Regions from separate parts of the Homo sapiens genome. Here all the other regions are linked to region 1. The links are contacts of gene promoters, found by promoter capture Hi-C in blood cells and fetal thymus (Javierre and others, 2016). All regions are on one chromosome and are shown on one strand. The core of a region is centred on a gene start or on the middle of the fragment in contact, and the rest is flanking DNA. Distances in the headings are between cores, read along the strand shown.

The links. The method cuts DNA at HindIII sites, captures the fragments that hold promoters and counts their contacts. A CHiCAGO score of 5 or more calls a contact.
Region 2: a fragment that was not itself captured here is called in contact with the fragment with the promoter of VIRMA in region 1 in 1 of 17 cell types (non-activated CD4 T cells); the score reaches 5.8 in non-activated CD4 T cells.
Region 3: a contact is called between a fragment that was not itself captured here and the fragment with the promoter of VIRMA in region 1, in 3 of 17 cell types (naive CD8 T cells, total CD8 T cells and fetal thymus). The highest score is 6.3, in naive CD8 T cells.
Region 4: a contact is called between a fragment that was not itself captured here and the fragment with the promoter of VIRMA in region 1, in 4 of 17 cell types (naive B cells, monocytes, total CD8 T cells and 1 more). The highest score is 6.1, in naive B cells.
Region 5: a contact is called between a fragment that was not itself captured here and the fragment with the promoter of VIRMA in region 1, in 1 of 17 cell types (neutrophils). The highest score is 6.8, in neutrophils.
Region 6: a fragment that was not itself captured here is called in contact with the fragment with the promoter of VIRMA in region 1 in 5 of 17 cell types (total CD4 T cells, naive CD4 T cells, naive CD8 T cells and 2 more); the score reaches 6.9 in total CD4 T cells.

What each region holds. Positions count from the first base shown.
Region 1 is chr8:94,550,941-94,555,318 of GRCh38, forward strand. It overlaps VIRMA (vir like m6A methyltransferase associated), which reads right to left and starts at 2,529. Exons shown (of 24, transcript NM_015496.5): 1 at 2,445-2,529. The coding sequence starts at 2,507. It overlaps VIRMA-DT (VIRMA divergent transcript), which reads left to right and starts at 2,773. Exons shown (of 2, transcript NR_183271.1): 1 at 2,773-2,967. RefSeq lists an enhancer at 2,223-2,842. The HindIII fragment of the contact is 4,366 bases long and covers 1,595-4,378 here.
Region 2 is chr8:93,724,403-93,728,780 of GRCh38, forward strand. It overlaps CIBAR1 (CBY1 interacting BAR domain containing 1), which reads left to right. Exons shown (of 9, transcript NM_145269.5): 8 at 1,992-2,111; 9 at 3,803-4,378. The coding sequence ends at 3,895. It overlaps RBM12B (RNA binding motif protein 12B), which reads right to left. Exons shown (of 4, transcript NM_001377960.1): 4 at 3,753-4,378. Among named protein-coding and RNA genes, the nearest start is that of RBM12B-AS1, 14 kb to the right of the region's middle. The HindIII fragment of the contact is 1,175 bases long and covers 1,372-2,546 here.
Region 3 is chr8:93,762,394-93,766,771 of GRCh38, forward strand. It overlaps TMEM67 (transmembrane protein 67), which reads left to right. Exons shown (of 28, transcript NM_153704.6): 4 at 1,449-1,548; 5 at 3,013-3,082; 6 at 3,179-3,253. Among named protein-coding and RNA genes, the nearest start is that of TMEM67, 9.7 kb to the left of the region's middle. The HindIII fragment of the contact is 1,750 bases long and covers 1,396-3,145 here.
Region 4 is chr8:95,275,075-95,279,452 of GRCh38, forward strand. The region is part of intron 1 of CFAP418-AS1 (CFAP418 antisense RNA 1); the gene reads left to right. Among named protein-coding and RNA genes, the nearest start is that of TRS-AGA2-5, 7.5 kb to the left of the region's middle. The HindIII fragment of the contact is 2,661 bases long and covers 1-2,581 here.
Region 5 is chr8:95,252,633-95,257,010 of GRCh38, forward strand. All of the region lies in intron 4 of CFAP418 (cilia and flagella associated protein 418), which reads right to left. Among named protein-coding and RNA genes, the nearest start is that of CFAP418-AS1, 14 kb to the right of the region's middle. The HindIII fragment of the contact is 7,599 bases long and covers 1-4,378 here.
Region 6 is chr8:93,984,705-93,989,082 of GRCh38, forward strand. No RefSeq gene overlaps it. Among named protein-coding and RNA genes, the nearest start is that of PDP1, 70 kb to the left of the region's middle. RefSeq lists enhancers at 1,096-1,215, 1,286-1,335. The HindIII fragment of the contact is 1,955 bases long and covers 1,008-2,962 here.

The sequences.
Region 1 (4,378 bases), core at 1,279-3,778:
ACTCCTGACGTCAGGCAATCCACCCACCTCAGCCTCACCAAAGTGCCGGGATTACAGGCGTGAGCCACTGCGCCTGGCCTAAAGTCTGTAATTCTTTGTCGAGCATTCAAGGAGCTCCATGATCTGTCTTTGAATTGCCTTGGGTGCCACTTCACACTGCTACTTCAAGCATACCCTAACAGACGACTGACTACCCCAGTAGAATGCCCTCCTTTCCTAACTACAACTGTGAAATATTGCCCCTTTCACCAAAGACCAAGTTCATAAGCCAAACACCTTGATGAAGTCTTTCCTGATACACTCAAATGAAAAGTTATCTCTGCCTCTTCTGAAATCTTGTATCTTTTATTTATACCCACAAAGGGAGCTAGTTCTAATACGTCAGATACTGATGGGCATTTTGTAAACTAAGATGATAAACCCCAACGAATTCACACTGTGCTTCTTTATGTGATCATCACATTCTAACTCAAATCACAATTTTGTGAATCTAATCTCCAATACTGAGTTATAACTTCTTGAAAACAAACATTTCAATATTTCGTATCACCCACAAACCCCTACTTCCTCCTTCAAGACTTGATTTAAATGTGATCTCTGCTAAGCCTTCCCCAATCACCCCAGAAGAAAGCATTTACCATCTGCCCTATGCTCTCAAGGTATTCAATGTTTACCTAAGAATGAATAAAAGAATAGAAATACATGATAAACTAATGAAGGCCAATTTTCCTAAACTAGAATAGTACTAAACTAATTCATCACATGCCTCTTTCTCTTTTTCCTTTTTCTCTTTCTTCCTTTCGAGACAGGGTCTCACTCTGTTGCTCAGGCTGGAGCACAGTGGTGTGATCTTAGCTCACTGCAGCCTTGAACTCCCAGGATCAAATGATCCTTCCACTTCAGCCTCCCGAGTAGCTGGGGCAACAAGATCAAACCACCACAACTAGTTAATTTTCTTTTGTAGAGACAGGGGTTGCACTGTGTTGCCTAGGATGGTCTCAAACTCCTGGACTCAAGCAATCCTTCTGCTTCCGCCTCCCAAAACGTTGAGATTACAGGCATGAGCCACTGCGCCAGGCTCTTTCAGTTTTAACTGTTCTCTATTTCTATACACCATAAGTTTGTTCTGATCCAACTACTGCCTCCATTGAGGGTTTTCTAAATCTCGGCTAGAATGTTAGATATAGTCATTGAACAAACAGTGCTAACTGACCCACATTAAATGTCAGACCATAAATTAACTGTCAGTAAGAAATGCTAACTCAAAGTTCTCCAACTTTTGACTTTTACAAACCTATAAACCATTCGTTAAATTAGATCACAGCTGTCAACTTTTTATTTTGCCAAGTAAAGCATTATGATACAATCACTACCCACTATCATTACTATCTCATAAAAGAAAGAACATTTTAAACATTTTCCATTCAAATATTTATTGAGCACCTACATTTTGCTAATACTGTCCTAGGCACTGGAGATACAGCTGAGAAAAAGAGAAATTATATCTGTCCTCAAAAAGCTTGATACAAGAGCACACTTGATAAAAATAAAAGGAAAAAAATAATCTCCAAAGAAAGAACAGTTCTCTAAATTAAGCTTACATTAAGACAGAAAAATGTGAAGTTCGTTTTTTTTTTTAACAATTTCTCCGTAGACTTCATTCAAGTTCATTTTTGGTCTGCTTTCAGGAATCTTTAGTTAACCAGCTATGTTTAATCTACATATTGCAGGGCCAATTGTACATTAAGGGGCGCTCAAGTAGTTTTGTACAGAAATATTACTCCACAACATTCCACCTCCAACCTCAAAGGAGATGTCTGCTGATGAGTTTAACTATAATTCTCTCAACTCTCCCCTCTTCGCAAGTATTCTCCGTGAATGCATCTCATTCCTAATGTGTGAAATCTCTCCGAGAGACAAGTATTAAAGTTTCAGGCCAAATCGGAGAGCACCGTAATCCTAAACCAAGTAAGTGTCACAACTGGGGAACATAATTCCCGACAGAAAAGAGGCCAAAGAGAAAGGATTTAGAAACATCGTGATTCGGAAACCACGAAGCCAACGTAAACTGCTCAGACTCCGGCACTACTGTCAAACACTACTGGCAAACCAAGACCCCTCCCAAACGCCATCTGAGGTAAACCTGAGAACCCTGATCCTTCTCAAGGCCCAAACCTGACAGGAAAAATAAAAAATAAAGCCATGCAAGCAGAAAAGCCAACTCGACCAAAGACACGGAGGGCCCAAGTTAAAGCAAGGAAATGAAGGGGCTGCTGCAGCCCTCCCTCAGACGCGATGCTCACACAGCTCGGGGGAGGGTGTCTGTGTGTAAGCGAGAAATTAAAGAAGCAATCTGCAGAAGGAAAAGTGGAGAACGCCTAACGGTTTTTTTGTAAAGATCCCAAGTCAAGAAGCAGCGTCAGAATCAAGTCGCCAAGCCTTACCTCAGCGCTCGGGTGTTTAAAAGTATCTAAAAATAACAGCTCCATCGCCGAGTCCACCGCCATGTTTGCCGCGGGCGGGGAACAGGGGGGAGGACTTCCGGGGCAGCGCTCCAGCCTCCGCGACAGCGACTCAGGAGAGGGAGAAACAGAGGGACTTCCGGTGACCAGAGCACTAGCGCCGCAAACCTCGGCCTATCCCAACGCATCTTGTTGCCCGGAGTTGCCGGCCCCGCCTTTTCCAGCGCGGCGGAGGGCGCCCCCTAGAACGCAGAGGGGGGGCAGAGGGAAGTGAGATGGGGACTACGGGGTCTCCAGTGGTTCAAACCCTGTCGTTCCTCCGCGTTACAGAGCTACAGCGGTCTCCGGGTGGCGAAGTGCGGAGACGGGGTTTTGGAGACGGTGGATGGAGGAGGGGGAGGGAAAGCTGCCAACTTTGGATACCAACCCCGTACACCCACCGAAGGGGATGTCCCACTTTTTCCAGCGCTGGGAGCAAAAAGATAACAGTGAGCGAGGTTGAAAAGTAAGACATTGATTTAAATAGAAGAAAAACTGTTGTTTCAACCAACGAAGAGATTCTTTGTTTTCTTATCTGTAAAATGTGAAAAATCGTACCTAACCTACAGGGTGATTGTGAGGAGTAATTGAAATAAAATTCGAGGAATTGTGTAACGTGAAGTACCATGAACAATAAAACAGGAGGCAGAATGAAAAGTAAGCCTCTCTGTCGGGTGTTGATGAGCTTTGGAGCAACGAGATAAACTCAGCGGGTTTGGTAGTCTAAATGGCACAAACCCTTAGCAGAGCAACTAGGAAATAGCTTGTAAAATTACACGTGCCTACCACTCTTCTAGGAAAATTCTCGCCCACGTATCTACAAATACAAGAATATTCATAGCAAACTTTATAAGTTGCAAAAGAGCAGGAAACATAAGTGCCATTGACAGAAGTAATAAGTAAATAGTGGCGTATTTATATAATAGTATATAGCAGGTACGAAGAATGAACCAGTGCTATGTTTACTAGCATGAAAAACCCAAAAAACAGGGTTGGTGGGCGCTTTGGCTCACGCCTGTAATCCAGCACTTAGGGAGGATGAAGCGGGAGGATCGCTTGAGCCCAGGAGTTGGAGAACTGCCTGGGCAATATAGCGAGACCCCGTTATTCACAAAAAGAAAAAAAAAAGACACAAACCAAAACAAAACAAGTTTAACTCCTCTCATCGCAAGCCGGGTGCGGTGGCGTGTTCCTGTGGTCCCAACTTCTCGGGAAGCTGAGACAGGAGAATCTCTTAAGCCCAGGAGTTGGAGGCCAGTGGGGACACCCATCTCTTAGAAAAGGAAATAAAAAATATATAGTGTAAAATAACATCTATATATTTAAAAACGTGCAAAAGAATATAAAATTTTAGGAGTGTACATATGTCATGAAATTATAAAGTCATGTATTGGAGTAACTAAAATTTCAAGATAGTGGTAAACTGGAAGGAGATGTAATGGAGAAGAACAGAAAGGCTTCACATGCCTTGGTAATGTTTTGTTATTTAGGTTAATGTTAATTTCACAAGCATGCCTTATATTATTGTTTGTACCTTCTGGTATGTCTGAAATATTTAATAATAAATGAATTTCTAAAGTAAATCTCCTCTCCACATCCTTCCTCAGCCATCCAGTTTCCTCTATTAGCTAGCTATAGTTTATCTTTTATTATTTGTTCTTGCATTGATATTTATTGCTTTTAATATTTTTCTGTTTTCTGATTCTTGCCTCTTTTTTTTTTTAGAAACAGGGTCTTGCTTCGTTGCCCAGCCTGGTCTCAAACTCTTGGCTTCAAGCAATCCTCCTGCCTCAGCCTCCCAAAGTGCTGTGATTATAGGCGTGAGCCACCGTGCCCCCCCCCTTCTTCTGTGTTTAGGCTTATATGCTGTTCTCTAA
Region 2 (4,378 bases), core at 709-3,208, 830 kb before region 1:
GCAGCCTTGACCTCTGAGCTTAGGTGATCCTCCCACCTCAGCCTCCCAAGTAGCTGGAATTATAGGCACGTCCCACTATGCCTGGCTAATTTTCATATTTTTTGTAGAGATGGAGTTTCGCCATGTTGCCCAGGCTGGTCTTGAACTCCTGGGGCTCAAGCGATCCGCCTGCGTTGGCCTCCCAAAGTGTCAGGTGAGAAATTTAGGGAGAATGCCCAGGCTTATAGTTTGGTCTTCTAGGTAAAAGATAATGTCTTTCATTGTAATAGCTAATCTAGAGCTACACGGTTCAGTAAAGTAGCCATTAGGCATATATAACTATTTAAAGTTCAATTTAAAAATTCAGCTCCTCGGCCACGTGAACCACATTTCAAGTGCTTAGTAGCCACACATGGCCAGTGGCTACGTTTCTGTACAGTACAGAACAGCAAGCATTTCCATCATCTCAGAAAGTTCTTCTGGACAGTGCTGGTCTAGAGCAGGAGATAGTTGGGAGCATGAATACAGCTATCACAGGGTATGCTTGTCAGGGGATTAGTTGAAGGGTAGTCATTAACAGTGTAGATAAGATCTTTCAGAGAAACTTTTTTTTTGAGACAGGGTCTCACTCTATTGCCCAGGATGGAGTGCAGTGGCGTGTTGTGATCTTGGCTCACTGCAACCTCTGCCTCCCAGGCTCAAGTGATTCTCCTGCGTCAGCCTCCCAAGTAGCTGGGACTACAAGCATGCACCACCACCCCTGGCTGATTGTTTTTTTGTTTGGAGAGATAGGGTTTCGCCATGTTGCCCAGGCTGATCTCAAACTCCTAGGCTCAAGTGATCCTCCTGCCTTGGCCTCCCAAAGTGCTAGGATTATAGGCATGAGCCACTGTGTGCAGCAGCATTGTTTTTATATATAATAAGTGGCCTAAAGGAAACCCTTTAAAAATATTTTAGGTATAAGTAGTAGAAAAGGAGATGTAAAGAAATAGAGAAGCCAGGACAATGAAAGAGTTTAGTAGCATTTAAGTTTCAGGAAGGGGGTCAGTGAGGATGAAGAGGAAAAAAAGACCTTGGTGATGTGAGGAAGAGCAATTTTAGTGGGAGGTGAAAAGCTCAATTGTAGTTTGTTGATAAATAAATGGAAAAGAAATTTGTTTAAAAAGAAAATGGAGATGAAGTCGAATATTCAAGAAAGTTTTTTAAGTAGTTATACCTTGAGATAACTAAAAAAAAAAAGACTGATCTTGAGCTTGTTTTTTAGGAGAGGGAACCTGTGACAACAAAAGCTTTTGTTGGTTGGGTTTGAAGTTTTGGTTAAAGGAAAAATGCACATTGGAACTAAATCAGAATGGTATTTTTAAAGAGAAAGAAGGAAAAGGAGGGGCGAAAAGCTTGAGGGAAAGTTCAAGAGATTCATATCTGATAACCTTACCTATTAGTCTATATAGAGAAATGGTGGGGGTAGGGTAGAAAAGATGGAGCTAGAAAGGCTTAAAAGTGGTAAACATTTGGAAATAGTGCCTTAAGGAAAGAGAACTGACAAGTCATGGCATTCCAGATCCTAGTAAGGTTGGAATCCATAAATTATAGTGGTTCCAATTTACTCTTATGTAATTTTCATAGCAGTACTGCAGAGTTAAATTGGTAAGAGTTGAGAATTTGCAGAACAGAAAGATTCAAAGGTATGAGTCGCAGCCTCCCTACTAGCTTGCATGCTCTTTGAGGGTCTCAACTTCTGCAGTTCTCCTGGCAAAAGCATTTAAATGATTGTTTCATGACTAATTACTGTTTAATATCTGTCATCATCTTACATAGTTCAAATAGAATTTTTAGCTTTCATCTTTCTAGCTTATTTTTGTTGTCTTTTCTTTTACATTTACAATAATTGGAATTTTGTCCATTTGGGGGGAGTTGTTTTTTTAAAAAAAAATCTTAACTAAGGAACTTAATTTGACTGTCTTGATTTTGTTTAGCATCTACTTTATAATGCTATTTTATCATTACAATAGGTTTTCCGAAATTCTCTGTATGCACCAGATTATTCATCTCGTTTAGATATTGTAAGAGCAAATTCAAAGTCACCTCTTCAGAGATCACTGTCAGCTAAGTGTGTATCTGGAACAGGACAGGTGAGCAAGAAACCGTACTCTAAAGGAATTTGAGCTGCTGCCTTTGGAATTGTTGAGTTCTAAAAATGTTTCCCCTCAGTCATATCACCTCGGTAACTTATCCTCCCCTGGACCTATTTCTTCTCTTCTATAAAATGACAGAAGATTGCATTAAGTGCAGCTCTATTATTTCTTAATTATCTTTTATACTGTAATTACATATTACTCTCTAAAGCATAACACTTGAGAGCAGAAGTGGAAAAGACAAAAGAATGCTAATGCAGATGTGTTATCTGCTATAATATGAAGAGCAGATTCTGAAGTCCAACTTAGGTTTAAATCTCACTATCAAAACTTAGTGGATCTCATTAAATTATAAAGTTAAATACCAAATTATACTAAAAAAGGGCTTTTACTGAACACAGAAATCATTTCATTTTTTTTCTATATCCAGAAAGCTTGAGTTTCCCAGTATCTAGAGCAGGGGCTGACAAACTTTTTCTTTAAGATGTGGAGACTAACATTCTTAGGCTTTGTGGGCCATATGGTTTCTACCCCAACAACTATAAATAACAACTGTTAAGTAACACATAAAGCAGTATGACTGTGTTCTAATAAAATTCTATTTACAAAAGCAGGAGGCTGGCTGGGCCGCAACTTGCCAAACCCTGATCTAGAGAGCTATGCCCTTTTCATATCTAGCCTTCAGAATATAAAATTCAACAAACTTATTTTCAAGATACAACTTTTAGGTAAATTTGATACCATACTTTCTATTTTCATTTGATTCTCCTGTAAGCATTTATTTTGTTTTATATGTATGTATCTCTCCCCCAACCCAATTGTATTTTTTTTATTCCGGCATTAAGTGCCTTGAACATAAATTCCATAAATTTACTTTTATAGTCCATATAAAGTTTTGACTACAACTAATAATGTCACCTTAGCTAACACTTGTATAGCACTTCAGAATGCATTATCCCAGGGTTTCTCAACCTCAGCACTGCTGACTTTGGGACAAATAATTGGGCCCACCAGGGAGGAAGAAGGGGACGGAATACTGTCCTGTATATTGTGACGACATCAAGCAGATATTAGCATCCCCCGCCTCTACCTACAACATGCCAGTAGCACACATAAACACACAGCCCCAATACTGACAAACAACAGTGTCTCTAGACATTCCCAAATGTCCCCTGGGTTAGATATAATCACCCTCAAGAGAAGTTTTAAGCAATATGCCCCACGTGGCGGCAGTCAGGCAACTTAAAACTGGTGAATTCAGATTCTCAACTCATTCCATTTAAATCACACTACTTTTACATCAGTATTTCTGTCCCACTGCCTAGCTGAAATATCCTTCTATTTTTGCCATCCATTTTATGATTCTCAAATGCTGTTTCTGTGACCCAAAATTTATTTTTAATATTCATAATATAGAGTCTATACTTTTAATGTTTTTGAAGTATTGATGGCTATCCAACTAAAATCAAATGGCTAATTACACATTTTTATTCAAAAAAATGTGATGAATGAAAAAACTGGCTTCTGAGCTTAAAATTCATAGGGAATTTTCACTACTAAAAATTATGACATGGACATTTTTTTGAAATATTTGTTGTGTGCCCTTTAATAGCATAAAAATATACCAAGAATGTAAAATTTTTTTAAGTTAGTATTTTTATTTTAAAAAGTGTGTTAACTTTTAACAGGTATCCACTTGTCGACTAAGAAAGGATCAACAAGCAGAAGATGATGAGGATGACGAGTTAGATGTTACAGAAGAAGAAAATTTTCTTAAGTAAACTACACATTTCCATTTTCATCATAAATGACTTGAAATCCACAATGACTAAATTGTAGAACTTTATACTCACTTTGCTATGTTAAGCCTCAAAGTGAAGTCCAACTGGAAACAGAAAAATAATTAAAGGAAACTTATGCTGACCAAAAATGAAGGCTTTAAAAAATATTGCATACCAGTCATTTCAACATCCTACCTAGTGTTACATGATTTTTGTGTAAGTGCCTTTTTTTTTAAAGATGGTGTATTTCAAAGTATTTCATATTAATGTACTATATCTACTTGAAGTTCCAATAGTACATTATGACAGAAACCAAAAGATCTAACAATTCTGCTTAGCTTTTTGGTTAAGACTCCATGCTTTCATTACCAGAAAAGGGTCTTACGTAGTCATTATGATTCATGGAATTCTATTCCATGAAGCCTTAAGAAAAAAAACTTTTTTTAACTTTCCCTGAAACTTTATCATTTGATAAGTAAATTT
Region 3 (4,378 bases), core at 1,021-3,520, 790 kb before region 1:
ACTATATATCTCAAGCTGGTCTTGAACTCCTGACCTCAAGCAGTCCTCCTGCCTTGACCTCTCAATGTGTTGGGATTACAGGTGTGAGCCACCATGCCTGGTCTTATTTTTTCAGAGACGTGGTCTTGTTATGTTACCCAGGCTGGATTCAAACTCCTGGGCTTAAGCAATCTACTGCACCCAGCTTCTTAGTAGTTTCATTGGCACTGTTGCCTCCATTGAAAATATTAACTTGATTCTCACGGTATTTGGGGGGTGTATTCTTAGGGATGGGACTAATGAAAGTTTTATGAGTTGGATGGCAATATGAAATTTATTACACTTCATGATGTACTAATTTTGGTGTGTGTGTCTCTGTGTGTGCACATTCAGAATTTTTTTTCCCTGTTTTATTATAAGGATCTACACTATATAGCCACAGGAAACATAAGTGGTATGTTTGCATAAATGTTTCATACACAAATATTGTTCTAGCATACTTTTTTCAGTTAACGGTATGCTCTGATGCTCTGTTAGATTTACCTGATTCTTTTTGTTTGTTTGTTTTTTGAAACAGGGTCTCACTCTTGCCCAGGCTGGAGTGTAGTGGTGTGATCTCAGCTCACTGCAACCTCCACCTACCAGGTTCAAGTGATTCTCATGCCTCAGACACTTGAGTAGCTGGGATTACAGGCACGTGCCACCACACCCAGCTAATTTTGTATTTTTTTTTTTTTAGTAGAGACAAGGTTTTGCCATATTGGCCAGGCTGGTCTTGAACTCCTGGCCTCATGTGATCCACCCACCTTAGCCTCCCAAAGGGCTGGGATTACAGGCATAAGCCTCCTCACCTGGCCTTACCTGATTCTTTTTAATATATTCCATAGTATTTTGTAGCATGGATATACCATCATTCTGCTATTTTAAATATTCGTGTTGTTTCTAACAAATAATGCCTCAGTGAATATCCTTATATACATGTTCAAGTGTTTCTGTAAGTTAGGTATCTAAAAACAAAATTGTGGTGTTATAAGGATGTGAATTTGAAACTTTAATAGATACTACTAAAAGCCTTCTAAGTTGCAGAAACTTATCAGTAATCTATGAAAATACTTGCTTCCCCATCCTAGTGTGACAGAAATGTATAGATAAGAGGTAAGAAAATTTTTGAGGAAAAAAATACTGACTTAATTGTTACGATGACTTGGAAAATGATTTTCTATATTTTACTATGTGAGAATAGGGAAGGCATCACTTCTCTTTTTTTTTGGAGGCATGGACGGGTACGAAGGGATCACTTCTCTACACTTTATTATGGAGATACTTGTTATGCCTTTAATGCAAATAAAGTGTTTTGAGAATTAATAGAATAATAGTTACAATTGGGTTTTGTTAAATATTTTCTGAATATGTAGAAGCTTATATGTTTACTATGAGTTACATCTTTATTTTGTTTCTAAACTGTTCAGTGGAAAGAGACATTAATGGAACATTGTTGTCTCAAGCAACTTGTGAGCTCTGTGATGGAAATGAAAACTCTTTTATGGTAGTAAATGCTTTAGGAGACAGGTAAGCAGTGTGATGGGGGCTAACTTCATTAATATCATCTTATATTAGTGTATAATTTGTACTTTTAAGAGTGTTTTCCTATCATATCACTTAGTTTTCACAATAACCCAAGGAAGGATAGAAGTAGACATTAACAGATACAGAAGCTGAGGCCCAGAGCGTGAGACACACTAGGGTTCAAATTTTGGTCCAGTCTGTTAGTTGTCTGACCTTGGATAGCTCACTACTTCACAATCCCTTGTCTTTAGAATGGTAATGTTACCACCCACTTCATAGGCTGTAATGGCTCAGAAATAATAAGTAATAAAGTAAATAGATACAGTTCTTAGTATAGTGCTACATAGTAACCACTCTGTACAGGGTAGCTATTTTTGTTTGTTGTTACATAATTTGTATATAATCTGTAATATAATTATGTGCTAAGTACTGTACTAAAGCCCTTATGTATTATAATGTTACATAGAAAAACATAAATGTATGCTAATAATAGCCCAGGTACCCTGATTTATAGTCCCATTTTCTGTTGCTTCCTGTTCCCCCTTTGTGCATGTATTTGTGAAACACACACACACACACACACACACCCCTGCCTGCCTATATACTTCCCTCTAATTTAAGCACATTATACCAATTTCAGCATCTTTAATTTATTAGAGGCCTACATCATGACTTCCCTCCGGGCACAGTTTTTTCTTTAGTTTCCAAGTTTAATATGGAAAATAGTTGAGCAGCTTTTCTGAGGGCTACTTAGTGTTGGATCATCTTTTCTCTAAGGCTGACCTGAGTTATGGCATCCAAATACCAATTTTTTTTGCCCAATATTTCCCCAAGCCTAGTGTGTTTTATGTCATGCCCCAGCCCGACTCCTACCTGCTCTATTTTGCAAGTGATGAATACCCATATATTCACTCATCACTGTCCTCATTGGACCAGTACCCTCCCTCCCTCTGTCTCATTCATTAATGAAAAATATGAAGTATTTTTCTAAAATAAACAAAGATGGTAAATAGAATTTATTTAAAAGTGTTGGCTGTAGGTTTGATAGGAGCTAGAGATACATTTCTCTTCGGGTTATGCTACCTTTTTACTTTGTGGCACATAAAATAAGGAAAGTATATTTGATATAACTAATTGTAAAAATTGGGTTTCATTTATATGAGTTTGTTGCTCTCTTGTTAGTTGAGTGACTTAATTATCTTTCATACTCAGAATTATTCATTATGTACATTCCATGTAGTTAAAAAATACTCTTCTATTATTGATTAGTTTTACTTACTTTATACTTTGTAACACAGAATGGCCTAAAACTATTCAAATCAGTGTTATTTTAAATTTGTTTAACATATTTACATAATTGCTTACTGAATGAATCTACTCTAATCCATTGTTTAGAAAGACAGCTTTTCTATTAGGTTTAGTATAATTTATTAACATTTTTAAAATTATTTTTGTTATATTGAACAGGTGCGTCCGATGTGAGCCAACATTTGTTAATACCAGCAGGTCCTGTGCATGTTCAGAACCTAACATTTTAGTAAGGCTAACCAAATTGATAAAGTATATATATTTTTAATTCAGTTGCTTATGCCTTTTCATAAGCTTCTATTTTTTCCCTCATTTATTTATGAAGACAGGGGGATTATGTTTCAGCAGCACAGGGAATTTTCCTCTACGTAGAATTTCAGCTGCACGTTATGGAGAAGTTGTGAGTATGTTTCAATTTTTTTGTTCTGTTGTTAAAAAACTTTCTACATTTCATCCATTAGTAATTTCAGGCTAGAATGAGAAACCCTTTTGTGTAAATCATTTTAAAACAGAAAAAAATCAATCTAAGAAACATTAGTCTAATAATTCAGCAGTATAATTTCTAAGTACAGTACTCAGTCTGTACCGTAGCCTGTTTGTTTTTCAGTGCGCTACAGAATGTTTACACCAGAAATATCTGGTATATGTTCTGTATAGGATGCAGTATAATACATTTAAGGGCACCAGAAACGCTAGATTTGAACCCTGGATTTGCAAGTCATTAGTTTGGTATCCTTGGACCTTGAGAAGATTTCAAAACTTCATTTTATTGTCTGTAAGTTGGACATAATAAAAATACCTTTACCACAGTGCCTGTACATGGTAATCATTAGAGAAATCAGGATTATTCTTATTTGGCCAGATTTTTCCTTTTTTTTTTATTTTATTTTTGTTTGAGATGGAGTCTCGCTCTGTTGCCCAGGCTGGAGTGCTGTGGTGCAGTCTCGGCTCACTGCAACCTCCGCCTCCCAGGTTCAAGCGATTCTCCTGCCTCAGCGAGTAGCTGGGATTACAGGCACCTGCCACTACGCCCGGCTAATTTTTTGTATTTTCAGTAGAGATGGGATTTCACTGTGTTGGCCAGGCTGGTCTTGAACTCCTGACCTTGTGACCCACCCACGTTGGCCTCCCAAAGTGCTGGGATTACATGCATGAGCCACTGCGCCCAGCCAGTTGTTTCTTATTTTGTGGATGAGAGCATTGAGGCCTAGAGTTAGAGCTTTGGCAGCAGATGCTGGTGATAACCACTTCTAGGGTATAAAATGGAAAGTAAGTAGATGAATTGGAACTAAAGAGGTAACAAATCCAAGAGAATAAGAGTTAGATGACTAGGAGTTACAATAGGAATTACTGAATGAACATTGAAGATGCTTAGTATGCCAGAGTTTGGGGTGGACAGGGTGTGATCTAGTTGTTAATATCATTATTGTTAATATTATTATTGAATATAAGAGTGATTAAGAGGACTGTGAGGATAGCAATGATGAGGGTGGGATCTAGGATCTTGATGAATGAGGCAAAAATT
Region 4 (4,378 bases), core at 1-2,500, 720 kb after region 1:
ATGAAGGCAAAGTGAAACCAAATTGATGGAGGTGATGGGACATGTTCCACAGGCCTGGGCTTAGGTTTGGTGTCCATCAGTCTTCCATTTCCCTTGATTGGCCATATTGCCTCTTGGGAAGGAACCCAAGGTTTTATGCAGACCAATTTGCTCTATTTCCTCAGTTACCGACTCACATGTCAACCAATCTTTATGGCCTTACAAAAGGTACCTGTTGGTATCGACCTTGCCATGAACTGTCTAAGGAATATTTGGGGGCTGGAAAGGACTTTAGTGATAATGTATAAAACTCTTTCAGCTGAGGTTGCAGTGATCCGAGATCACGCCACCGTACTCCACTCCAGCCTGGGCAACATACTGTGTCTCAAAAAACAAAAAAACACCTCTTTCATTTGATAGATAAAGCAATCAAGATCAAGCCCAGAGTGGTGAAATGATTTAGAAATTCTTTGACTATTCAGAGATTTTCATTATAACCATACATTGCATTCTTTTATTTCAACATCATGATGGTCATTCTGGATAAGACTCCTTCCTCTCTCCCTCCCTCCCTGCCTCCCTTCCTCCCTGCCTCCCTACCTCCCTCCCCACCACCTTCCTTCCTTCCTTCCTTCTTTCTTTTTCTTTCCTCCCTTTCTTTCTCTTTCTTTTTTTGAGACAGGGTTTCACTCTGTTGTCCACGCTGGGGTACAGTGGCATGATCATGCCTTACCGCAACTTCTACCTCCTGGGCTCAAGCCATCCTCCCACTTCAGCCTCCCAGTAGTGTGGACTACAGGCACACACCACCATGCTCAGCTAATTTTTATATTTTTTGTAGAAGTGGGGTTTCACCATGTTGCCCAGGTTATGTCTAGTGGCCATAAAATTGATGCTATGAATTTAATGTCAGATTGCCATATATTGGAATCCTTTCATTCCTGCCATTGACATATTAATACAAATATCTCTCATGCTCTGTTCTCAACTTCTTCAACTCTGATAGCTTGTGCCACTCTACTGTACTCACATCTCTCCAGATTAGTGACTGTGTTTTGACCTCATATTATGTATGAGGACACAAACTTCTGAAGGACAGGGACTATAACTGATGCACATTTATTTCTCCTATAGGGAGGGAGAAGTATAGCTTTTGAGAACATCTAAATTGAGAGCCCATTATGATACCATTTTTTTTTGTTGTTGTGGGGGAGGTAAGAGATCCTTGTTGTATTCTAACAATGAGGCTGAGTCTCAGACATGAGTCTGAACCCTGTAGGGATAGTAAATTCTTCCTTTTCCCAGTTCTCCTTTCTTACTAATATGGGTACAGAATGGTCTGTTCAAGTCACAGAAGCTCTTGGCTGAAGAAGGAGTCTCCCTGAGCACACAGGGAGATCTTAGTTCCAGAGAGGGTATGGGGGCTACAGAAAGGGCCAGAACAGATGGCACACTCCGTACCCCAGAGCTAGGGCTAGTGTGTGCCTGGTCTGTGAAGGGAAGGAACTAGTGATTCCAGGTCCTTGGACAGATTCCTTCCGCAGCAAGAGCAGCATATTTTCTGACCCTTTGTGTTTTTCCTTTTGAAACTGACATTATCTCTAATTATATGTGGTCAGATTGTAGAAGACATTTATCATCTATTGCCAAAACATCACCCACTGCTTTGCCAGTTCCTGTTTGCCCAGCCTGGCTGTGGCTGTTGAAATATCCCATCTGCAAGGTGAACCCAATTCCTAGCTAACCCAAGACTTGCTCCTCCCCATCATGGTTAGATCTGGAATTGGTCTGGATGGCCTAGGTCTGGTACGCATTGAGCAAAATGCCACACTGCTGTCTTCTCCATGAACCCTTGTGGATGGGCTTCTACTCAACTTCTAGATTGAATTCCATTTCTGTTCTTGGGCTGAAATTTTGTCCAAACCCCAAAGCGTTGTCCAGGGCTGTAGGAGTCTTCTAGGGCTGCCGTAACAAATCACCACTTAAAACAGTAGAAGTTTATTCTCTGAGTTCTGGAGGCCAGAAGTCTGAGATCAAGTTATGGGCAGTACTATACTCCCTTTGTAGGCTCTAAAGGAGAATCTGCTCCATGCTGCTTCCAGCTTCTGGTGGCTATTGGGATTCCTTGGCATTCTGTAGCTTGTAGCCACATCAGTATAATCTCTGCCTTTGTCTTCCCATTGCCTTCTCCTCTGTGTTTATTCTATAAGGATACAGGTGATTGCATTTAGGGCCTACCCAGATTATTCAGGATAAGTGCCTCTTTTTCAGATCCTTAACTCAATCACATCTGCAAAGATTCTTTTTCCAAATAAGGTCACATTTTTAGGTTCCAGGGATTCGATGTGATTTGATATCATTTTGGGGGCCATTTTTCAGCCTAGTACAAGGGCCCTGACAAACTCCTGGCTTGTGCTGACCCCTGTTTTTGGGGGATCAGCCCCTTATCTCTTTTGGTCCTGGCCAAGGGTATGTTTTAACATGAATGAGTCTGTCTGGAATCAAATTGTTAACCACTTGACTATGACTATCTCCACAGTCATATCTTTCTAGGCCTCCATTTCTAGGCCCTTGGGTATAAGTGCCAGCCTGGATCAGATTAAGCTTGCCTTTAAATACTGTGATGTAGTCTGATGGACAAATAAGCCCAAGCTCAGGTCAGTTCTTTTAGCTTGAGCCATACTGGAATGGCTTCCATCTCCTTGTCATCCTGGTATCGAGGTCTCTGCATGCCTCTTGGCAATGATGTGTTGGCTATAGTATCATCATGTGTATAACATATTTTTTTGCATACCTACCTTATTCTGAGCTCTTTATAGAACTTATTTTACTTAATCACTGTAGATCAGGAAACAGGGACAGAGAAAGGCATAGTGGCTCATGCCTGTAATCCCAGCACTTTGGGAGGCTGAGGCTGCCAGATCACTTGAGCTCAGGAGTTGGAAACCAGTCCGAGCAACACGGTGAAACTCTGTCTCTACTAAAAAAATACAAAAATTGCTGGGTGTGGTGGCGTGTACCTGTGGTCCCAGCTACTAGGAAGGCCGAGGTGGGAGGATCACTTGAATCCAGGAGATTGAGGTTGCAGTGCGCCAAGATTGCGCCACTACACTCCAGCCTGGGTGACAGAGCAAGACCCTATCTCAAAAAAAAAAAAAAAAAAAAGGAAGTAAGGACAGAGAGGTAAAGTTATTAGTCCAAGGTCATATAACCTGGGTCTAACTGTAAAATTCATGTTCATTTTACCATGCTGTACTATATTTTACATGCTTTATTATCTATCTTATTGTTGTCTCTCCTTCTCATTAAAACAAAACAAAACTGAGACTAGGAGAGGAATAAGCTTTATTTGATTTTCTAATTACTTGTGAGGACTTGGCAGACAAATTTTCTCAACCAGACAACTTAATTCTTAAATTTTTGTTTGGGGGATCTTTCCAGTTCAAGGTCTGTTATTGCATATAAGTTTGTAATCCTCTTGCCAGTTTCATTATTCTACATTTATTGCCATGTTTTGTGTAACATGTGTCTGTATACTGTTAACATTTTCCAGTAACCATCCTACATACACAGAAAAGAGACATGAGTGTAAAGGAAAAGGCCAGCAAGTTCAGTCAGCCAGGAAAAGTTTATAAGTCTGTATTTCAAGGAAGGAGTCATGTGCTGAATTTGCACACTGGCCTGTGACTGAAATCCAGATCAATATCCATGCTCTAAGTACAGTATGACTAAAACTCTTAGAACCGAAAGCTATTTAAGTCCCTTGGTCTTTCTAGCGTAAGTTAGGAAATGTTTCCTCCTCTTCAATATTTTGGAAAGGTTTGAGCAGAATTGGTATTAGTTTGCCTTTAAATGTTTGGTAGAATTCACAAGTGAAGCCCTCAAGTGCAGGGCTTTTCTTTGTCAGGAGATTTTGGATTACTGATTCAATCTCCTTACTACTTATAGGTCTGTTCGGATTTTCTATTTCTTCATGATCTTGTCTTGGTAGGTTTTGTGTTTCTAGGAATTTTTCCATTTCTTCTAGGCTATTCAATTTGTTGGCATATAATTGTTCATAGTGCTCTCTTATAATCCTTTTTATTTCTGTAGAATCGGTAGTAATGTCCCCACTTTTATTTCTGATTTTAGTAATTTGAATCTTCTGTCTTTTCTTTCTTGTTCTGTCTAGCTAAAGCTTTGTCAATCTTGTCTGTCTTTTCAAAAAGCTAACTTCACATTTTATTGATTTTCTCTTGATTTTCTATTCTCTATTTCACTTATCTTTGCTCCAATCTTTATTATTTCCTTCCTTTTGCTAGTTTTGGGTTTAGTTTTCTCTTCTTTTTCTAGTTCATTAAGTTGAAACTTAGGTTGTAGATTTGAGATCTTTCTTGTTTTTTACTGCAGGTGTTTACAG
Region 5 (4,378 bases), core at 748-3,247, 700 kb after region 1:
TCCCCTTCCTACTGAAATTTTCAGGAATATCTCTACCGAAGAATATGTCACATGACATTGAAATGAATCTGTTTTTCAGATAAGCTGCTTAAGCGCTGGGAAAAGATTGTATTTGTTTGCTTCCTCACAACTTGGCATAATGCATTCATTCACTCAAAAAATATTTATTGAGAGTCTGGTATGTGCTAATGAGATTCTGTCTTCATAGAGCTTTGATTGCAGTGAGAGAAGAAACAAACAATGCTCATGATAACTAGACTATATACTAACCTGGAGGGATATCTGAAGCAAGGTGCACACTAACATATATAGCATGATCCTATTTTTGTAAAAACGACCCCCACAAAAAATTCCTATATAGGTGGCTAGAAGTTTATAAGAACATGGAGCAAAATGGCCGGGCGCGGTGGCTCACGCCTGTAATCCCAGCCCTTTGGGAGGCTGAGGCGGGCGGATCACGAGGTCAGGAGATCGAGACCATCCTGGCTAACACAGTGAAACCCCATCTCTACTAAAAATACAAAAAAATTAGCTGGGCATGGTGGCGGGCGCCTGTAGTCCCAGCTACTCAGGAGGCTGAGGCAGGAGAATGGCGTGAACCCGGGAGGCGGAGATTGCAGTGAGGGGAGATCGCGCCACTGCACTCCAGCCTGGGCGACAAAGCGAGACTCTGTCTCAAAAAAAAAAGAACATGGAGCAAAATGTAGAAAGTTATATACTACACAGTAACCCTGGTTGCATCAGGAGTGGTTGAAGGGAAGGAAGGGAGATTATTATCTTTTTCTTTATACATGTTTCAATTTTGTTTTTATTCTTTCATTAAGCACATAATACTTCTGTAATGAAAAAATAAACTCATCATTAGATTTTTTTCATTTATTTCCCTTCAAAGTTCAGATACGCTAATTTCAAAATGCAAATACTTTTGGCCTGAAAATTTCTTTGAGAATAAATGCTTTGTATTTCTAAAAATACTATTAACCATAATAATAATGAAACATTTAAAACCTATACAAGTTTCATAGGCAAGTCCATATTTTCTTTCAAACTGTTAGCAATTTATGAAGTTGCATTTCTACATTTGGAAATTCAACAACTACATTTGTACACATTTGAACTCAGACTTCGAATGTACAAGTCAGGAAATGCAAATTGATAGTTCCCAAAGCTACTATGACCTGCTTTCTTATGCATATATAGTTTATTACATGATTGCACAGAGTGTTAACTTTAATGCCTTAATACATATGTGCAATTTGGCTGAATTATTGCTGTTGTGGGAACTATAATTTAGAATTTCCTGACATTTTGTATGTGTAAAATCTCAACCATAATGCTAAATACAGCTTTTTAATTTAATTTAAAATTTAGTAGTTTATTCAAATCTATTCACACCACCACATTTTCCTACAAACACTGTCCTTTGAGAAACATAAAACTAACTTGCAGCTAAGAAATCATTCCACTGCTACGATTTACTCTATTAGATCATAATTAGTACCAGTCTATGGAATAATCCAGTCTTGCAAGTTGTTTAAAAAATAATTGAGAGTAAAATTCGATTGGCTTGAAAATGCCTTCGTTTTATCTGTAGTACTTATTACTGCCACCATGCTTCCTACTACTATTCTCTCCCCTTTTCCACCAACAAGTGAAAGACAAATCTTTTTCTAAAATCTAAAGTCATTCAGCATTACCTCAAGCCAGAGCTGTATCTAGAAATCAAACAACGCAAATAGGCAGGATAGATTCAATTTCCTTTATGCCCTGGCCATGTAAATCAGTACTCTTTTCAGGGCTGAAATATATTTCTCTTTCATAACTATGTACATAAAAGCATATCTAATATAAAGTCATGACTCCAGTGAAAGACAAACTGTCAGGTCTTTCCCTCTAAAATGTAGAGGGAATCACACATAAGATGTCACCAAGAGCTTTGTTCTTTTGTCCAGCTAAAAAGTAGAATTCACTATTTTAAAGATGTTTACGACAGGAATGCCCCAAATCCAACCCAATACAATCTTCTGCCCAGACACTGTGGTTCTCTGTTAAATCCTATCAGATCTGCACAATGGGACTAAAGAAACTTGATGTCTGGATAGTTTGAAGATAACAGCAGTTCCAACAGCAACATCAGCTAAGATTCTTCCCATATTACATGGCTTTCTGCTAAGTGGTATAATAGAAAGCATAATGGATTAGGAATCAAGTAACCAATCTGGATCCTTGCTTTGCAATAACTGATATGACCTTGAGCAAGGCACCTTATTTGGGAGTCATTCTTAACAACTTTCTTTCTTACCCTCCTTAGTCAATCACTGAATTCTGTCAATTCTATATTCTAAATATTTCAAATTTGACCTTTTCCCTATAGCCATTGCTACCACGCAGGTCACAGCTCCCATCTTCTCTTTCCTGGACCACTCTAACTACTGCCCATTGACTAGTCTTCCTGTGTCCTTTCCTGTCTTGCCCCTCCAACTCCCAAGCCATTTTCTGCACAGCAGCCAACATGACTTTTTTAAGAAACACAAATCTGGCCCATTGAACACAGGACAAACTTTTTCCAAAATCCTCAAAAGGATTACAGGACCCTAAGCCAAATGTCCCTCCACTCTCTCTCCAGCCCAGTCAGTGGCCATTCTTTCCCTACTCATTATGCTCCAGCATGGCCAGATACTCTCTGTTCCTTCCACCAGAGGAACACCCCCAGCTCCTCCCCTTCTCAGGGAGCTTCTAAACATGCGTGTGCTCTGGCTCCAATGGTCACCTCTCTTTGTCTAACTCCTACTCATTTTTCATATTGTGGTTTGATTATCTGCTCAGAGAAGTATTCCCTGACCCTTCATATTAGTTAGAGTGTCCATTATCTATGCTTATAGTATCCCATATGTTCCCTTTATGTCACATATCAAATGGAAAATAAATACTTATTTGTGGAATAATCTATTTAAAGCCCATCTCCTCATCTAGACTGAAAGCTCATTGAAGACAGGAAGTGTCCATTTATTTGTTCATCAAAATTTGTTCATTTAATCCTTAGGACCTATCAGGTGGTTAATATGTGTTTGATGAATTTAACACAAGTACCTCAATCTCTTCATTTATAAAATGGAGGTAAAAATTCTTGATCAGCATCTTGGGTTTTTCTCTTGTGGAGCAGGTAAGTCAATATGCATATATAAAAAGTGCTCTGGACAGTATAAAGTACTTCACACATAAAATTTGCATATGCAGATGAACACATGTGTTTGTCTTTCTATGGGTGCAAATTCTGTTTCATGAAAGGGGCAACTAATAAAAAATCTGTGAATACAAACATTTACCTGCGCATATATATGCAACTGGTATCTCTTCTTACAGCTGTGCAGGAGGTAGAAATCAGGTATAATTGATTTCGGCATCCCACTTGGACTAATAGTATGTGATAGGAGCCTCGAGCTATGAAAACAGGCTGTTCTTTGGTTTACTGAAATTCCATCTAACATAGATTTTGTCTGTGCTACAACTAAATCAAAGTACGTACAAAATATTTCATACATAAGAAAATCTTAATGAAATGTTTACTTTTTAGAAGTAAACCAGAATGTATTTTTTTAAAAGATCATTTGTAAAAACAGAAGGCACCTGTAATTATATGTATTTCCTGAGATAAAATGGAAAACTAGTAGTAGAATAAAGATTCTTGTCCCTGAGATATAACGTAACAAGAAAGCAGGACTAATGGATGAGAAAGACACCTTAATTAGAACCCAGTGTGCCTGCAGTACCTAGCTGTCTTTTGCACCATAGGCATAGTTTTCATGTATTATTTCATTTAATCCTCAGAGTATCTCCATGAAATATGTTTAGTTTTTAAGAGTGAGGAAACAGGTTTTAGAAGATAACATCCCTTCTTAAGGCTTCAGAGCTTGTAAGTGGCAGAGTGAGGCTTTGAACTCAGGCATTCTGTCATCAGAGCCCTTCCATTTCAGGCCACAGGAGTAATCATTTGCTTCTTTGTTCCTTACTGGCCAGTGTTTTGCCTTTTATTGATAAGCTAGCACAGGGTTTAGGACATGGGCATTCAATGGATTTAAAAAATCGAAAAAATTTAAATAGAAAAATCAATCTGCAGTGTGTGAATTAAACAGATAAGGCAGCAGGAGACATGCATTAGAAGGGAGTGTTGTTCCAGATAGGGAATAAATGTAAATATACTCAGACACAGAAAAACATAAGTGGAAAGTACAGAATGACAAGCATCCCAGTGGCAGTGGAATATCTGACCCAGGCTTTAATTGGAGCTGAAGGAACTAAAGAGAGAAGAGGAACAACAAGGATAACAATTTGGTAAAGCAAATAGTGAGTTTAGAGTTAATGTGAGACAAATGGCAAC
Region 6 (4,378 bases), core at 735-3,234, 570 kb before region 1:
TTAAGTGGTAGGTGGCAAATACCTGTCTTGTATTTCTTCCCAAGCTGGAAGTAGGTTTTTGCTTGTAAAGCTGGAGCAGGGAGAAGAGTTACTATCTGGAGAGAATGGAAAACATCTGCAAAATGAACAAATCTCCTGTTTTCCGTGGCACTGGGCATTAAACAGTGTCACAGATGGCTTCACTAGGGGATTATGGACAACATGAAGAGATCCAAACATGTCTGTTTATTTACCCCTTCTCTTGAGAACAGCAATTGTGGGATCAATTGGGAGGCAAAATGGTATAAGAAAAGAACTCTGGCTTTGGAGTCCAGACAAATCCAGCTTCAAAACCTTGTGCCTTAATATACGTTTCTATGATGATTTAGTTGACCTCTGAGCCTCAGTTCCCTTGTCTGTATAATCAAGATGGCAGTGCAATATTATGCAGGGTTTCTTAAGTTACAAGTGACTAAAACCCAACTTGAACTTGTTTAATCCATAAAAAGGGAATCTATTAGCTCATGTGACCCAGCCAAGAAAAAGCCTAGCCTCAGAGTTGGCTGGACTCAGGGACTGGATCCCTACCAGGTAAAGTTCTTGTCTTTGCTTACCTCTGGAAAGGTAATTTTCATAATAAATAGCAATAAAAGTGGTAATAATAAAAGGGTTTTATTCTCTCCTTTTGAAGATGGGCTGCATTCACTGGTGAGGAACATGTTCTAGGCTCAAATCTTTCCAGATGGAGACCTCTGTAGACATTTCCAAGAAATGACTCTGATTCCTTAGCCACAGACTCTTGCCCAGTTTAGGCCAATCACAGGCCAGTGGGAGGAGGTACTACACGTGGCTCAGCCTGCATCATGGGACAGCCCTGTGGGCCGGTAGTGGCATAGTGAGGCTTTGGGGAAATCACTACAAGTTGTCCCAACCTGTCCACTCCCTCACAGCACTTTTGTGATTTGAAGGAAGCCACACAGTCACATAGCTCCTCGAATAGTCTCTGTGGTGATTTTCCTCCTAGAGGAAGCTTTGGGGAGAATGTGGGCACCTCAGCCTCTCTGTTCCTTTGACCCTTCAGACTCATTAAGTGCAGTGTGGTTCTTACAGTTCTCTCCGTGTAGCTTCCTGACTCACTGCATCTGCAGATGGCCCCACCCCAGACCTGAAGCATGGCAGCGCCTTTGGTATCTCCAGGGCTCCCACAGCCAACGTGTCTTCTACCACAGGCATGCAGCTCTTTTTCTGCATCCTGTTTCATCCCTGTGGCTGTCACTGTGGTCTGTTACCTCACAGCCTCCTAAACAGGGGCCAGCTCTGATCACATTGGTCTGCTGCTTCCAAGTGACAGTGGCTCTCCATTATCTCTCAAATTAGTGGGAGACTCCAGGGCTTGGCATTCAAGGACTGCCACGATCTTATCCCAAACAACTTCCAAGCCACTCTTGCGGGCATTGGGTGTTTAGATCCTGCTACTGTAGGACAAACAAGTAGGAAAGCCTTTGGGGACCAGTGTAAGGAAATGAGCAGGAAGGAGTGAGACTGGCTGGTGGCAGGTTGCTAGGCAGCCATACAGCAAGAAAAGCAACCTGCATGAGGCAGATGATCCTAGAAGCCAGTGAGCACTCCCGCATTCTTTGATGTTTGTTTTAGCTAAGATCAGCCAACTTAGGGTACTAACCAATGGAATTTTGTGAACCCATTTAACTCTGATATTTAATATGTTGAGGCTCAAGACATTTTTCCCTCTTTGGTGGTGAAAAAACCCATAAACTACTATTGTTTTTACTGGGGAATGTGTATGGGCGATTGGTGGGAGTGGTGTAGAGTGGGAGAGATTTCCCAAGTAGCAAAAAAGAAGACTAAAATGAAAGCCATTATTCTGCTTTTCAGAACTAGTTGCTTTTATTTCATGATGGTTGCCTGGAGACTTTGTTTATATGTATTTATAAAGAAATAAATGCTGAACTTAGGCCTAGAAATCCAAATGAAAAACATGTCATTCTCAGCTTTGAGATGTGGAGTGTTTGCTCTACGAGGATAAGAGGCCATGCTTGCCTGAATTCTTCTAATTTAAGACTCTCTTTTTAATCTGCTGATGAAGTTTTACATATGTATACACACACATATATATACTCCTCCCAAACACACACACACATATTTTAAACATTTTAAGTTGTCTTTTAAATGAACAATTACTTATTGCCAACAGGAACTCATTTCATCTTAGGAATGCTAGCAAATACTCCTGGCACCTAAGCATGATTAATATAGAGAGGAACATATGAGACACAATGCAAGGGTGGCTGATAATCCAGTTCCTGCTTGTCACAGGCCTTGGCTCAGCTCAGCTGGTCATGCAGATGAAGGCCGAGGAGATGGGCAGCAACCAGAAGGGCTCCAGGGTTGGCATCTGTGCATCAGACGACTCATAGGTCAAAACCAGGTTTTTCAAACCCTGCTCTGGCTAAAAAAAGTCCCAATTTCCCTGTGCCTCACATCCTGTTCTGTTTTCATGGAAAAAAAAATTCAAAAGAAAAGCACATTGGTTGATTTCCCAGACTTGCTCTTTTTTTATTTCCTGGTTCTGAAAATTTTCTTTTTCACTCTTACTTTTATAAGCCTGCAATTAATTCAGCATTTGAAATGTGAGCTTCTGAAACAAACTCCCATGAATGCTGCATAACCATGTTTGGTTTTGCTTTTCTCTTAAACTCCCCTTCTGGTTTTTGTTAACATTAAAAACACACACACACACAAAAGATAGACGGGGACTGGGGCAGGGATTTTCCAATGTGTTTTCAGAACAACCACTTATAGTCAAACATCAGCAAGGCCAGTTATTCTAATATTGCAGTAATGACTTCCAGGCACCAAAAAAGAAGGCATGTTGCAATAACTTTAAGACAAATTGCTGATAACATAATCATTGTCTTTTCCTCCTAGAGAAGTAAGAATTTTCCAAGCACTCTTAAGGACTGTAAGCTTTTCTGTGCCCTTACAAATCATCAAACTTTAATCCTCATTAGATACTGGTCAATATTTCCAGAGGAGAGGAAGTGCCACATGACTTTAAGTATCAAGCTTATGATTACCAACAAAGGAAAACTACATACATTACATGAGTGGTAGCTGCACCGTATGCCTGGACTATAGCATGCATGTTCACCTACTCATTCATTCATTCATCCCACAGTTCTAATCAGCAATTAACATAAACAGGATTCCTGTTCTAATCGATTTTTCAGGCTGATGTGGGAGGCGATAGGAGAATGTAGATAGACATTGAATAAGTATTTACAAGTGCACTTAGTTTTACAGAGAAGGGAACAGTTCTCTATGTGATAGAACTAGCCTAGTCTAGGAGCATGTGAAAGATTGCTGCAGAGAAGGCCACCAGCCTTTTCTCCCAACCCTCTAAGCACCTGCCACTCCAAGAGATGGGTCTATTTCCCCTCCCCTTGAACCTGAACTGGCCCTGTGATTTGCTTTGATCAATAGAATGTGACAGAAAATATACCCTGTGACTTCCAAGCATAGTCATTAAGATGCCTTGTAGCTTCTGTTTTCTCCCCTTGGAAGCCAAACCCATATAAAGAGGTCCAGCTGGAGAAATCTCATAGAAAGAGAATGGGACCCAGTCTGCCATCCCAGCCGAGGTACCAAACATGTGTGTGAAGCCACTTTGGACCCTCCACTTTCAGTTAAGCTGGTCCAGTGCCACATGGAGCAGAAATTAGCTGTCCCCAATCAAACCCAACTACACTGCAGATTCATGAGCAAATGAGTGGTGGTTATTTGAAGCCATTACATTTTGAAGAGGTGTGTTACCCAGCAATTGATAACTGGAACAGAGTCAGGGAGGTTTTCTGGAGGAAGTTCTATTTAAGTTAAGTATTGAAGACTGGGCAGAATTTGACTCTTCAGGAAAGGGTTAATATTCCAGGCAGATGGAGCAGCCTGGGAAGACCCCCAAGGCTGGAGGAACATGGTGCCTTCAAGACCTAGAAGCAGCCTAGTGTGACCAGAATGTAGAGAAGTAGTGAGCATGGAGGCTGGGGTGGTAGACAAGGCTTGTAAATAAGAAAAGAATATAGCTGATACTTTTTGAATGTCAAGTGGATGTCCAGACCTTCATCTGACATAGTTAGCTTAGCAAAAACAAAAGTAAGATCTTTGTTCAGAGGGAGGAAATTCCATGCCATGGATGTTTCTGGCTACTAACACAAAGACATGACTGATTACAAGTAAGGTCTGATGAGAAGGAGAAGATTCATTTATCCAACAAATATCTCTTGAGTACCAGTACCATCCTCATGGGAGAAAGAACTCACAGTGCATTTCTGATAAATATAAGCCAGTGTCATGCACATAAAAAGGCCATGTTTCAGTGGTCTAC